Linked DNA regions of Homo sapiens: all the other regions are linked to region 3. The links are contacts of gene promoters, found by promoter capture Hi-C in blood cells and fetal thymus (Javierre and others, 2016). All regions are on one chromosome and are shown on one strand. Each heading gives the region's core, a stretch centred on a gene start or on the middle of the fragment in contact. The rest is flanking DNA. Distances are from core to core; before and after follow the strand shown.

Evidence for each region. The method cuts DNA at HindIII sites, captures the fragments that hold promoters and counts their contacts. A CHiCAGO score of 5 or more calls a contact.
Region 1: a fragment that was not itself captured here is called in contact with the fragment with the promoter of KCNG3 in region 3 in 1 of 17 cell types (fetal thymus); the score reaches 5.6 in fetal thymus.
Region 2: a contact is called between a fragment that was not itself captured here and the fragment with the promoter of KCNG3 in region 3, in 1 of 17 cell types (M0 macrophages). The highest score is 5.3, in M0 macrophages.
Region 4: a fragment that was not itself captured here is called in contact with the fragment with the promoter of KCNG3 in region 3 in 6 of 17 cell types (megakaryocytes, M0 macrophages, M1 macrophages and 3 more); the score reaches 7.2 in megakaryocytes.

The regions. Positions count from the first base shown.
Region 1 is chr2:42,103,592-42,106,291 of GRCh38, forward strand. No RefSeq gene overlaps it. Among named protein-coding and RNA genes, the nearest start is that of PKDCC, 57 kb to the left of the region's middle. The HindIII fragment of the contact is 1,161 bases long and covers 871-2,031 here.
Region 2 is chr2:42,815,320-42,818,019 of GRCh38, forward strand. No RefSeq gene overlaps it. Among named protein-coding and RNA genes, the nearest start is that of TRI-TAT2-1, 6.1 kb to the left of the region's middle. The HindIII fragment of the contact is 978 bases long and covers 928-1,905 here.
Region 3 is chr2:42,492,541-42,495,240 of GRCh38, forward strand. It overlaps KCNG3 (potassium voltage-gated channel modifier subfamily G member 3), which reads right to left and starts at 1,442. Exons shown (of 2, transcript NM_133329.6): 1 at 297-1,442. The coding sequence starts at 961. It also overlaps a transcript of MTA3 not described here. RefSeq lists enhancers at 1-386, 387-1,144, 2,469-2,700 and silencers at 1,225-1,314, 1,495-1,544, 1,635-1,714. The HindIII fragment of the contact is 17,203 bases long and covers 1-2,700 here.
Region 4 is chr2:42,753,585-42,756,284 of GRCh38, forward strand. MTA3 (metastasis associated 1 family member 3) reads left to right here. Exons shown (of 17, transcript NM_001330442.2): 17 at 1-2,700. Among named protein-coding and RNA genes, the nearest start is that of OXER1, 9.2 kb to the right of the region's middle. RefSeq lists an enhancer at 2,460-2,700. The HindIII fragment of the contact is 5,030 bases long and covers 1-2,700 here.

The DNA of each region.
Region 1 (2,700 bases), core at 201-2,700, 390 kb before region 3:
CTGCTCTACCAGAAGGCTGGTACCTAGGAACTCAGTGGGACTTTCTGAGCCCAGTCTCCTGGGTCTGGGACTTGGTGTGGTGCAGTTCAATAAATCCCTATTGTGGGGGGGGGGCGGGGTAGAAAAGATGTGAGATACCTTTCCTCACCCTTCATAAGGGTCATTGCTATAGCAAAAGACTGATTAACAAGAGAAAAGCATAGCAAATTTACCGAATCAAAGTTTTATGGGACACAGGAGCCTTCAGAAATGAAAACCCAGTGACCCAGGGAAAACTGTCTATTTTTATGCCTAGGTAGAAATACACACTGTCCATTCTTCGTTGAACCTAAGCATAAAAATAGACAAAAGGATGCGATCTAATGGTAACAGACTGAGGGGAGAAACCCAGCAAGGCCTGTCTGTTCAGATTCTTCTTGGCCTCTCTGAGCAGCATTCCTTCCTCCTGGGTGTGGGGCAGGGGCTTTCTGGAGCACGGGTCTTATAACTCACAGTCAGAGGTAGATCAGAGAATCTCTTCATGGCCAGTGCCTACACAGAAAGGCAGGGGGAACTTAGAGTAACAGTTCTAGATTTTATGGCTTGCTTTGGGGGAAAGGGATTCTAGTTATTATGACCTGCCATAGGGAAGAGGAATTCTAGTTTCTATGAATTCAGGGAGAAGAAGGGGTGGGAAATAGGGCAAGAGAAGTTCAGAGAGAGATTTTACTTCTGAGACTGCTTCTAAGGCCTTCCAATCTCCTTTAGTTCAAAGTACTCAGCACGCCAAGGCATTATACTTTGACTTATCATTTTCTGAGCCCCAGCAAAATTTAAAACATAGTGAGTGAGTCTTCTAAACATGAAGTCACACCCCATTTCTGATGTAGAAGCTTACACTTTAGGAACTGCTACGGAAGCACTTTGCAAGCGCCATCTCACTGAATACTACTTAGAAGGAACTATTAACTCCCCGTTTTACAGATTAAAAATCTGAGTTTAGAGAGACTAATTAACTTGCCCGAGGACACCCAGCTAATAGGGGAGAAGTTTGAACCCACGGATCTGATTCCAGAGGTCATGTGTTAAACCTGTGCTGTACAATAAACTCTGCCAGTCTCTCTGATCAGAGATGGAAAGGACTCTATTGCAGTCTTCAGCCATCCTTCACAGTGAGGAAGACCTTCCTGTTACACTCACCTGCCTTTAGTCGACCTGAGTGATTGCATTCACATTGAATTCGATGGCTTTCCTGAGGGACCCAGGCAACCTATACTGAGGAAGAAACTATCCATAGGAACCGGATTCCAAATGAACTAGATGCAAGTCACCAAGGCCAGAGTCAGTCCTGGGCCAGCCTTTCCAGTATGATTTCAGGACCACAGGGCAGCGCCACTGGCATTTTTGCCAAAAATCAACCATAAAAGAACCATTGTGCTTAACACCAAACACATTTAATCCAAAAGTGTGCTTCCATTTATGCATGTCACTGCTACCTCACCTTGGTCCATGGTCCAAGGTGACTCAAATATGTATTTTATCTGGTACACCTAGCGTTTTTTTAAAAACGAATTAATTACCAAAAATTTTAAATTGGAAGATTATACCGAAATATCTGGATTTGTAAACAGTTTCCCCAAAACTAAAAATCTGGCCACACTGACCTGTATTCTGCAGTCTACCACAGGCTCCACCATCCCATCCTGTCTCTTTCTCTCACCAACTGCTTGGCCCACCCCTCCTCTCACACCAAAATGCAAATATTCCCTAAACAGGTAACTATTGAATCTAACTAGTCACATCGCAGCATGGAGATCTTATTCTGAGAGCTGGTTAAGGGAAATTAATTGAGGTAAATTACGGAGAGAAAGCATTGCTCCGCCAGACAGCGTCAGGCCATGGCCAGAGCACAGCAGAAAAGATTTCTACAGTTCTATAAAACCACAAGACGAGAAGTTGGTGTTTAAACAGCTGTTATGAAACTAGGGTGTGTGACAGAAACATCACCTGTTTCCCAAGAGCTCATCCTCTCACTTAATTCAGCAAACACCAAGCTTTTCTTAGCATCCTGGGCCCCCTTCCCTGCAACTCTTCTTTGGCAGTGCCTTGGGTGATAGTCAGAGGCAAAGTCTGGAGGTGATTAGATGGCTGCCGACTTAGGCTATAAGCGAGTCCAAAGGAATGGATCTGGCTTTTGATCAGGACAAAGCTACGTCCAGAGGAGAAGCTGAGTGAAGAGGAGGCACCAGTGATAAACTTGGGTTTGAGCAGCCAGGATGGAAGCACGATCTCATTCACCAAGATGGTGAGCAGCTGTGTTCTCTGAAACACAGACCACGTGAGCAAAAATTGTCTTCCCCCAATTTGGAGGCTCCTCCCGCCAAAGCAGTTTAATGGGCAGGCAGAGAGGAGGCAGAGTGAGGGAAGGTTTTATATGGAAATGTGGGAATGAATGAAAAGGCCTTACTTAAAAGGATCTATCTGATAGCCCTTGGGACAGCCTCAACCATCCCCAAATGCCTCTCTGGGGGGTGGGGAGGCATTCAGCTCTGTGGATATTTGAACTCCGACTGTTTTTGAAAGTCGCCCATGTGACAAATGTGTCAACAGAGCCCCGGATGTGCCCTCTGGGGTGGGGAGGAGGGTGGATGTGATCAAGTACATTTCAGGCTTTCAGAGAAACAGGAAATTCAGTAATCAGAGAGCAAAAAATCTATTCAA
Region 2 (2,700 bases), core at 167-2,666, 320 kb after region 3:
CCCTTACCTCTGGAATATTTTAGAGGAAATCCTAGATATGGTTTAATTTAACCTGTCAAAACTTCAGCATATATACCCAACAGGTAATCACTTTTTTAAAAAAGCATAACCATGGTATCATTATTACACCCAACAAGAGTAATAATAATTACTTAGCTTCATCTCATACCTCATCTGCTTTCAAATTGCTACCCATATCTCTGAAAAATATTTTTACAGAAGATTGGTTTGTTTGAATCAAGATCCAAATATGGGCTGTCCTTGGCATTTGATTGGTGTATCCTTTAAGATATTTAAAGGATAAATCTCTTTTAATCTATTCGAATTTCCTCTCTTTTCACCCCCTTTTATGACATTTCTTTGTTGACCTTTAGAATTTCCCACAGATTTTGGCTAATTGCATGCTCAAGGTTTTCTTCAGCCCCATGTTCTTCAATCCCTCATGGCAATTATATCTAGAAGCTTTATAATATTCAGATTATTTTTCCCCCAAAATATATTCTAGATGGTACTGTGTGCTATTGCACCACAAAAGAAAGTACATAATGTCTGGCTGTCCCACATTTAGAAATATGGCTTTTGATTGATGATTTCAGCATGGTCAGCAGAATCCATCCATTATAAAATCCTTCATCAGCCTCTAATCCTTCATCAGCGTGGTTGGCTGAATCCATCCATTATAAAGTCCTTCACCAGCCTCTAACCTAATGTTTTAGCAGCCGTTGATTATCTTGGTCTAAATCTATTATTTTTATTGAGGATTCCCCAATGGTGCTTTTCTAATTCTATTATTCCTTCTGTATTTATGACTATGGAAGCACAATTCACATAAGAAAGACTGGATAATTTCTTGATTCTTTCTCTTTTTCCACCAATCTTTGATTCCCTAATAATTTCTAAAGATAACCAATAAGTTTTAAATTTTAAAGCTTTTCTGAGTTATAGTTTATGTACAATGAATTGCATTAATAATGTTGAGTAGCTTTTCATATGCTTATTAGACATTAATATATCCTCTTTGGTGAAGTATTTTTTTGTTTTTTGTTTTTGAGATGGGGTCTTGTTTTGCCCCCCAGCCTAGAGTGCAGTGGCATGATATCACAGCCTCAAACTCCTGGATTCAAGCAATCCTCCTGCCTCAGCCTCCCCAGTAGCTGGGACCACAGGTGCAAGCCACCACTCCGGTCTTCTGTCTGCTTTTTATTGAGTTGTTTCTCTTTTCATTATTGGGTTGTAGAGATTTTCTGTATAATCTAGATGTAGTTCCCTTGTTGGATATATAATACGTATATTTTTTGAGACAGAGTCTTGCTCTGTCACCCAGGCTGGAGTGCAGTGGTGCAATCTCAGCTCACTGCAATCTCCGCCTCCCAGGTTAAACCGATTCTCCTGCCTCAGCCCCCCAAGTAGCTGGGACTACAGGTGCACACCATCATGGCCAGCTAATTTTTGTATTTTTAGTAGAGACAAGGTTCACCATGTTGGCCAGACTGGTCTTGAACTCCTGACCTCAGGTGATCCATCCACCTCGGCCACCCAAAGTGCTGGGATTTCAGGCATGCACCACTGTGTTTGGCCTGTGGATATATAATTTGTAATTACTTCCAGTTTGTGGCTTGGGTTTTCATTTTCTAATATCTGTTAACGAGCAAAATCTTAACATTTTGATGAAGTTCAATTCATTGATTTCTTTACCCATTATTGATTGTACTTTTGGTGCTATATCTAAATAACCTTTGTTTAACTCAAGGTCACCAAGATTTTAGTCCATGATTTAGTTCTTATATTTAGGTTTATGCTCCATTTTGAGTTGACTTAATTTTTGTGTATGGTGTGAGGTAAAGGTCTCATTTTGAGGGGGGTTGGGGTATGTGAGTATCTAAATTATGGCACCATTTGTTGAAAAGCTTATTCTTTCCTGATCAAATTGCCTTGGCATCTTATCAAAAACAAGCTGTCCATAAATGTGTTGCTCTATTGCTGTACTATCGTTCTATTCTATTGACCTGTCAGTATGGTGTTATGCCAACACTACACTGTGGTGATTACTGTAGATTTAGAGTAAGTTTGGAAACCAGGTATTATAAGTTCTCCAATTTTGTTCTTCTCTTTCAAAATGCTTTTGGCCATTGCAGGTCCTTTACATTTTCATATAAATTTTAGGTTCAGTTTACCAATTTCTATGAAAAGTTCTGCTTGGATTTTGATAGAAATTCTGTTAAATGTATTGATCAAGACGTTCAACAATTTGAGGAGAATTATCTTCTTCAAAATATGTCTTCTGCAGATCACCTGAGGTCAGGAGTTCGAGACCAGCCTGGCAACATGGTGAAACCCCATCTCTACTAAAAATACAAACATTAGCTGAGTGTGGTGGTGGATGCTTATAATCCCAGCTACTTGGAAGGCTGAAGCATGAGAATCGCTTGAACCAGGGAGGCAGCAGAGGTTGCAGTGAGCTGAAATCACACCACTGCACTCCAGCCTGGGAGATAGAGTGAGACTGTGTCTCCAAAAAAAAAAAAAAAAAAAGTCTTCTGATTCCATAAACATAGTATATCTCTCCATTTATTTAGGCCTTCCATTTCTTTAAGCAATGTTTCATAGTTTTTTTTTTTTTTTGAGACAGGGTCTCAAAAAATGTAAATGTATGTGTTCAATGTATTGGTCAATACATTCAACAATTTGAGAATTACCTTC
Region 3 (2,700 bases), core at 192-2,691:
AAAAGTAAACTACAAAGAGGGGACATTTGTCTATCTCTACACGCCCCTCCCCATGCCTGAGGATTTCGCCCTCAAGAGGTGCGTCTAGTGTAAGGGCCAGACCCCGCTGGTGCCCCGGACAACGGGGTAGGAGTGGGGACCGACCGGTCCCGTAGTTGGCCGCGCCTGGGCCTCGCTGGGCGCGCACCCCGCTGGCTCGGTCGCCCGGAGGCGGACAGGACGGAGACGGGACGTATGGACGGGACGGACAGACGCGACAGGACGGACGGGACGGGTAGAGAAGCAGTGCGTCCTACCCGGAGGGCTCCCTCCCAGGGCCGGCGGAGTACCTGCTCCGGTCATCCAGGCTGCGGTTGTCGGCGGCTGCGTTGCGCCAGTCGGGCAACGTGCTGGCGCACAGCACCACCATGGACACGATCACGAACACCACCGACACGCTAGCCAGGATCTGCGCGGCCAGCGACGACGTGGGCTCCTCGAAGGTCCGCCGCATGCGCTCCAGCCAGCGCCTGGAGGGAGCCGCCTCGGCCCCGCCGGGGCGCGCCTCGTCGCGGCCCAGCACGCCCGGCTCGTCGGCCGAGTAGAAGGTGTAGGTGTCGGACATGCGGTCGTCGAGGCGGCGCTGGCAGCAGTACTCGAGGTGCGCGCCCTCCAGGCCCCAGTAGATCATCTCGTTGTAGAAGGAGAGCTCGCACATCCGCGGCGCGAAGCGCAGCTTGCCGTGGCCGCGCACGTAGAGCAGGATGAAGCCGAAGGCCTCCGAGTGCCGGTCGAAGAAGTACTCGTTGCGCTCGCGGTCGTAGTCGTCGCACACCTCGAGCACGTCGCGCTCGGAGCGGCAGCCGTGCAGCCGGCTCACGCGGCGCAGCGGGAAGTCCTTCAGCAGCTCCCGGGACAGCGAATACCGGGCGCCGCCCACGTTCAGCACCACCGAGGCCGCCCCGCTGCGCCCGAAGGTCATGGCTGGCCGCCCGGGGGACTTTCGGCCCGAGGGCCCCGCTGCAGCCCCCCACCCCAAGCCGCCACGCGGGGCCTGCCTGCCCGTGGCTGACGGGGGAGCGCGCCGTCGGGGCCCGCGCTCCCTCGGGGCTCCGCTCCTGCCCTCCGCTGGCCCGGGGGTCCCTGGGCTCGAGTATCTCCGGCGCTGCTAGTAGCGCGCCCTCCGCCCGGCGGTACCTGCGGGTGGCCGGGGAGTCCTCGCCGGCGCCAGCGCTGAGCCCCACCGGCTGGGAACGCGGCTGTGTCCGCGCCGCCGACCCTCGCGCCCGAGGGCTGCGCACACCGAGGCCGCGGTGCCCTCTCCCAAGCCGCGGGGCCGACCCCCTGAGGGCTGCGGGCGCCGAATGGAGCCGCCGGGGCGGAATAGCTCCCCGTCTCCGGCGCTCCCTGCGGCCGCGAATCCGGCGGCCGCCCCGCCGCCGTCCAGAGGCGAGAGGCAAAGTGAGCGGGTTCGGAGGCGGCGAAGAGCCGGCTCGCGGCGGCGGGGGCGGGGCCTCTGTGCAGTCCTCCTCCTCGCCCGCCGGCTCCGCGCGCGCCGCTCACCTCCCTCCGCGCCGCCCTCCGCTTCCCGCCCGCGCCCGCACCTCCCCGGCTTGCTCGGGCTGGGATTCCCGGGCGCCCCGCCCTGGACCTCGGGCTCCCCGCCTCGTGACGCCGTCCTCCCCCTCCGCTCCGGCCCGTAGTGGCGGGGAGGGGTCCGCAGGGCGGGGGAGCGGGGAGCCCAGCGCCGGGATGCCTGCTCCCGCGTCCTGCCCTGGGCCATCGGGATGAATTGGGCAGTCCCCAGGGCCCCTTTTAACAGCCCTGGTTCAAAGCCCAGTGTGGACTCGGGTGCGGGGACAGACGGCGTTTGGAGAGCTTTTTCCAGAAACTGTCCGGAGCCCAGCTCGGGTTCTGACATCGCCCCTAAGGATTTCTCAGGGAAGGCATCCCAGCCACGGCTTTTCCTGCCGACTTTGCTCTTCCTACCGCCGCGCGGGGCGACCCACGTACCGCGTGCTCAGAGGGCGGCTACACGCCCCATCCCCCAGCCTCGGTGCCGCCTGCCAGCCCGCGGAGGGAAGCGGTCCCCGACCCGGCCCCGGCCCCCACGTTCTGGGGCGCGAGTCCTGAGAAGGCGCCTAACGTGTAGCGCGCCTGGACCCTCTCGAGATGCTGCCCTTAGAGTGGGATGAAAGTCTGGGGAGGAACGCCTTGTCACCGGCAAAAACAGCCTTTCTCTTGGTCTTCGTCTGCATCCTCCTTTTCAAAATATCTTGATTTCCCCCGCGCACCCCTGACCCGGCTGCAGCACCGGCCCTCCGAGCGGGAAGAGCCCCGTGAAGGCTCCGCAGAGCGATCTACCCCGCGCTCTTGTCCGTGCCCAGAAAGCGGGTTCCACTTGGCAGGGATTATTTTAAACTGCTACCAGCAATTCATTCACCTGACACCCGACACCGGCAGCCCAGCCCGCCGGAGGCGAGACAGGTGAGTTGTAAGGCGAACCGTGTTAGATGCAAAACAAATACTAGAAGAAAAAAATAAGGGTGGGGTAGGGTGAGATGCGGTCATCTGACCACAGGGTAACCTGGCTGGTTAAAGGGAAGAGTTTTTCATTGCCCTCTACTTTTCGTAATTTTGTAGGATTGTCCGGTGCCCGCTAGAGGTCGCCAAACGGAGTCCTTTTGCGCTGGTTCTTAAGTGGATTCCTAGTGAAAAGGC
Region 4 (2,700 bases), core at 119-2,618, 260 kb after region 3:
CCACGTGTGGATCAGCAGCACCTCGCTTTCTTGTCAGAGACCTCGCTGTTACGGAGCGAGACCTGCTGAGAATTGAGGGGCTGAGGGAACCCCTCCACCTCCTCCCTTCTGCAGCGCCCTGCGCCCCACCCAGCAACAGCGGCCACTTGGCAGTGGGGCTGCTGCAAGCTCAGAGCCGCTGCCACCCTGCATGTGTCCGCTCAGCTCGGTCTTATGCTGTATAGTTACTAAATATGTACAGGAGGGCCATGGCATCTTTCTGAATGGATTTTTCTTAAGAAATGCGCCAGTGTTTATGAGGTTCAAGGTATTTCCCTGTCCTTGCTGTTACCGTCACTCAGCTTTTTCTCGATAGGCTTCATCCTTGTTTTTTTGAAATGGGGGAATTTGCTGTTTACCCTCTGCATTCCTATATGTGACCCTCCCTCCTACTCCTCCAAGGAACAGAATTACCGAGGTTCTGACAAAAGATAAGCCTGTAAACTCATCATCTGTGTTTTGTGGTTGGAGAGAAACTGGTGTTCTGCCCGGCTCTGCTTGGTCACAGACAGCTCCAGCAAGAGCAGTTGTTAAAAGTGCCAAGCGTGTGTATCACTGTGACAAGCCGTTTGCTTACTGCCCTGTTCCCTTGCAGCCAAACCAGCTGATGAAGAACTGCTGCCAGGTGGGTCCTACAGCAGGTCACAAATGACCTAGTTTCATTTTAAGCAGACAGACTCTGTTTGGCCTAGAGGTGTGGAGTGAGAGAACTGTGTTTGTGGGTATGAGTCTGTGTGGCCAACCCCATGACCCCCACCCCTCCAGCCCAACATCTTGTGAGCACATGTGACCTAGGCCCCGGGGGACCTGCCTGCTCCTTTGGCTTGGGCTCTTCGTGTTTCCCACCTGCCCTCGGCACGAGCCCTTGGTGGCATCACAGTTGGCCACTCAGCTGTGCTGAGTAGCTGTGCTACTTGTGCTGGCAGCTGCAAGGATAGGAATAGCTCAGCGCCCGATGAGCTCCCTGAGCAGATGTGAGGCTGGCAACTCCCCTGCCCTCTGTTTGCAGGCACAGGGTCACAGTCCCAAGAAAGACAACTGGAGTCTGATCTCCCAGCCATCTCTGGGGTTACTAGGAGGCAGCTGGATGGCAGATACGAGAGGCCCAAATAGCCAAGCTGTTGCAAGACAGAGTGGCTACAATTGAATTGACACCCTGGGAAGCACGAGGTAACTTGGTAAGGATAATGATGCTGTAGATGTCTGTGTCCTCGGAGGCTGAGCTCCGCTTGGCAGAGAGAGCGTGCTGTGTGAGGTGGAGGGCGGTTTTGCAGACATCTCAGCTTCTTTTCTGAGGAGGAGTTGGTTCTCATCTTAGGCTTCTGCAAGGGCGAGCATGGGATGTCTCCACCACCACCCACTCTTGGAGCTGTGCTGGGTCTTGGCTTGGGGCGCTGAGGGTGGGGCCTGTGTCAGAAGCATTTGGTGAGAGGGGTGGAGGTGGCAGGCAGGGGTTCTCCTCAGGGTTCCCACTGAGGGGTCCCTTCAGCAAAGACCTGGGAGGAGGTGCCGCATCACGTGGATGTTTCTTCCCTAAAGAAAAAGACACAGGAAAGCTGTCTGTCTGTACCCTGCTCTGGATTTATTGTCGTACTTGGACCCAGAAGGGGAAATGATTCCCTCACCCTTTCACTTTCTCTCTGAACCCCTACTAAGTGGTGACTGCAGATTCTGGAAACAATTAGCTGCCCGTGACTCAGCTGCCAGCTTCATTTTCTCTGCCTTTTGGGAGAGGCCCTCTCACCCAGGCCCAAGAGATTTGGAGACAGGAGTCAGGCCAGGTCTGAAGCAGGAGAAGGGAGGCCCCTCCTATCTACCCAGTTGACATTTGGCTTTGGGAAAAGCGCAGCTTGTTCGAGCCACGTGTGCCAAGCAGGCTTTTCCTTCCTCTTGTAAGTAAAGCTCGTGGTTCTGTAGTCCAGTCATCCTAGGAGGGTGATGTTGACTGAGACTTCACGCTCTCCCTTTGTCTCTGGAAACTGCCCCCTCGTTCTGACAGAATCCCCCAGGCAATGGAGGAAGGGTGCCGAGGCGCCTCTAGTCTGTGCCTTTGCCGTTGGAAGCATTTGGTGCTGAGAGGGTTTCCCAGCCACCCGCTCCCTTTCTGGGGCCATGGTGTCCCTGCTGTGTGTCAGTGGCATGTCACTGTGGTTCAGTGAGCACATGGGTGGACGTGCAGAGACTGTCTGCGCAGCCCCCAGCAGACATGCCCCTGGGGTGAGGACACAGGCTCTGCAGGCTATCTCCCCCTCTGGCTCAGTCATCGCCTGCCCACCCTTCACTTCTTAAAGGTGCGCAAGAGAGGAGGGCCGACTGGAGGGTGTCGCCGGAAGGTTTCAGCCTGCCCTTCACAATTCCCCTTGTGCACAGCCCAGTTTCCATCTCTCAGGGCCCACCCAGGAAAATGGATTTCAAGTGGGGGTTTTCATCCAGAGATTTGTTTAACACAAAACAAGAAAAGCTGAGAGGCAAAACAGGGGAGTGAGGGGCAACCCAGAGGTGGGGAACAACAACAGCAAGCCGCCCCCATCCTGAGACTGGCTGGGCACCAGGGGAGGACGCGTCACCAGAGCCTGGGGCCAAGGCCACTGGGGGACCTGCCACACTGTGGACCTGTCTGGTGGGGGCTGGAGCCTCGAGAAGCCATGATTCTTGTCAGAA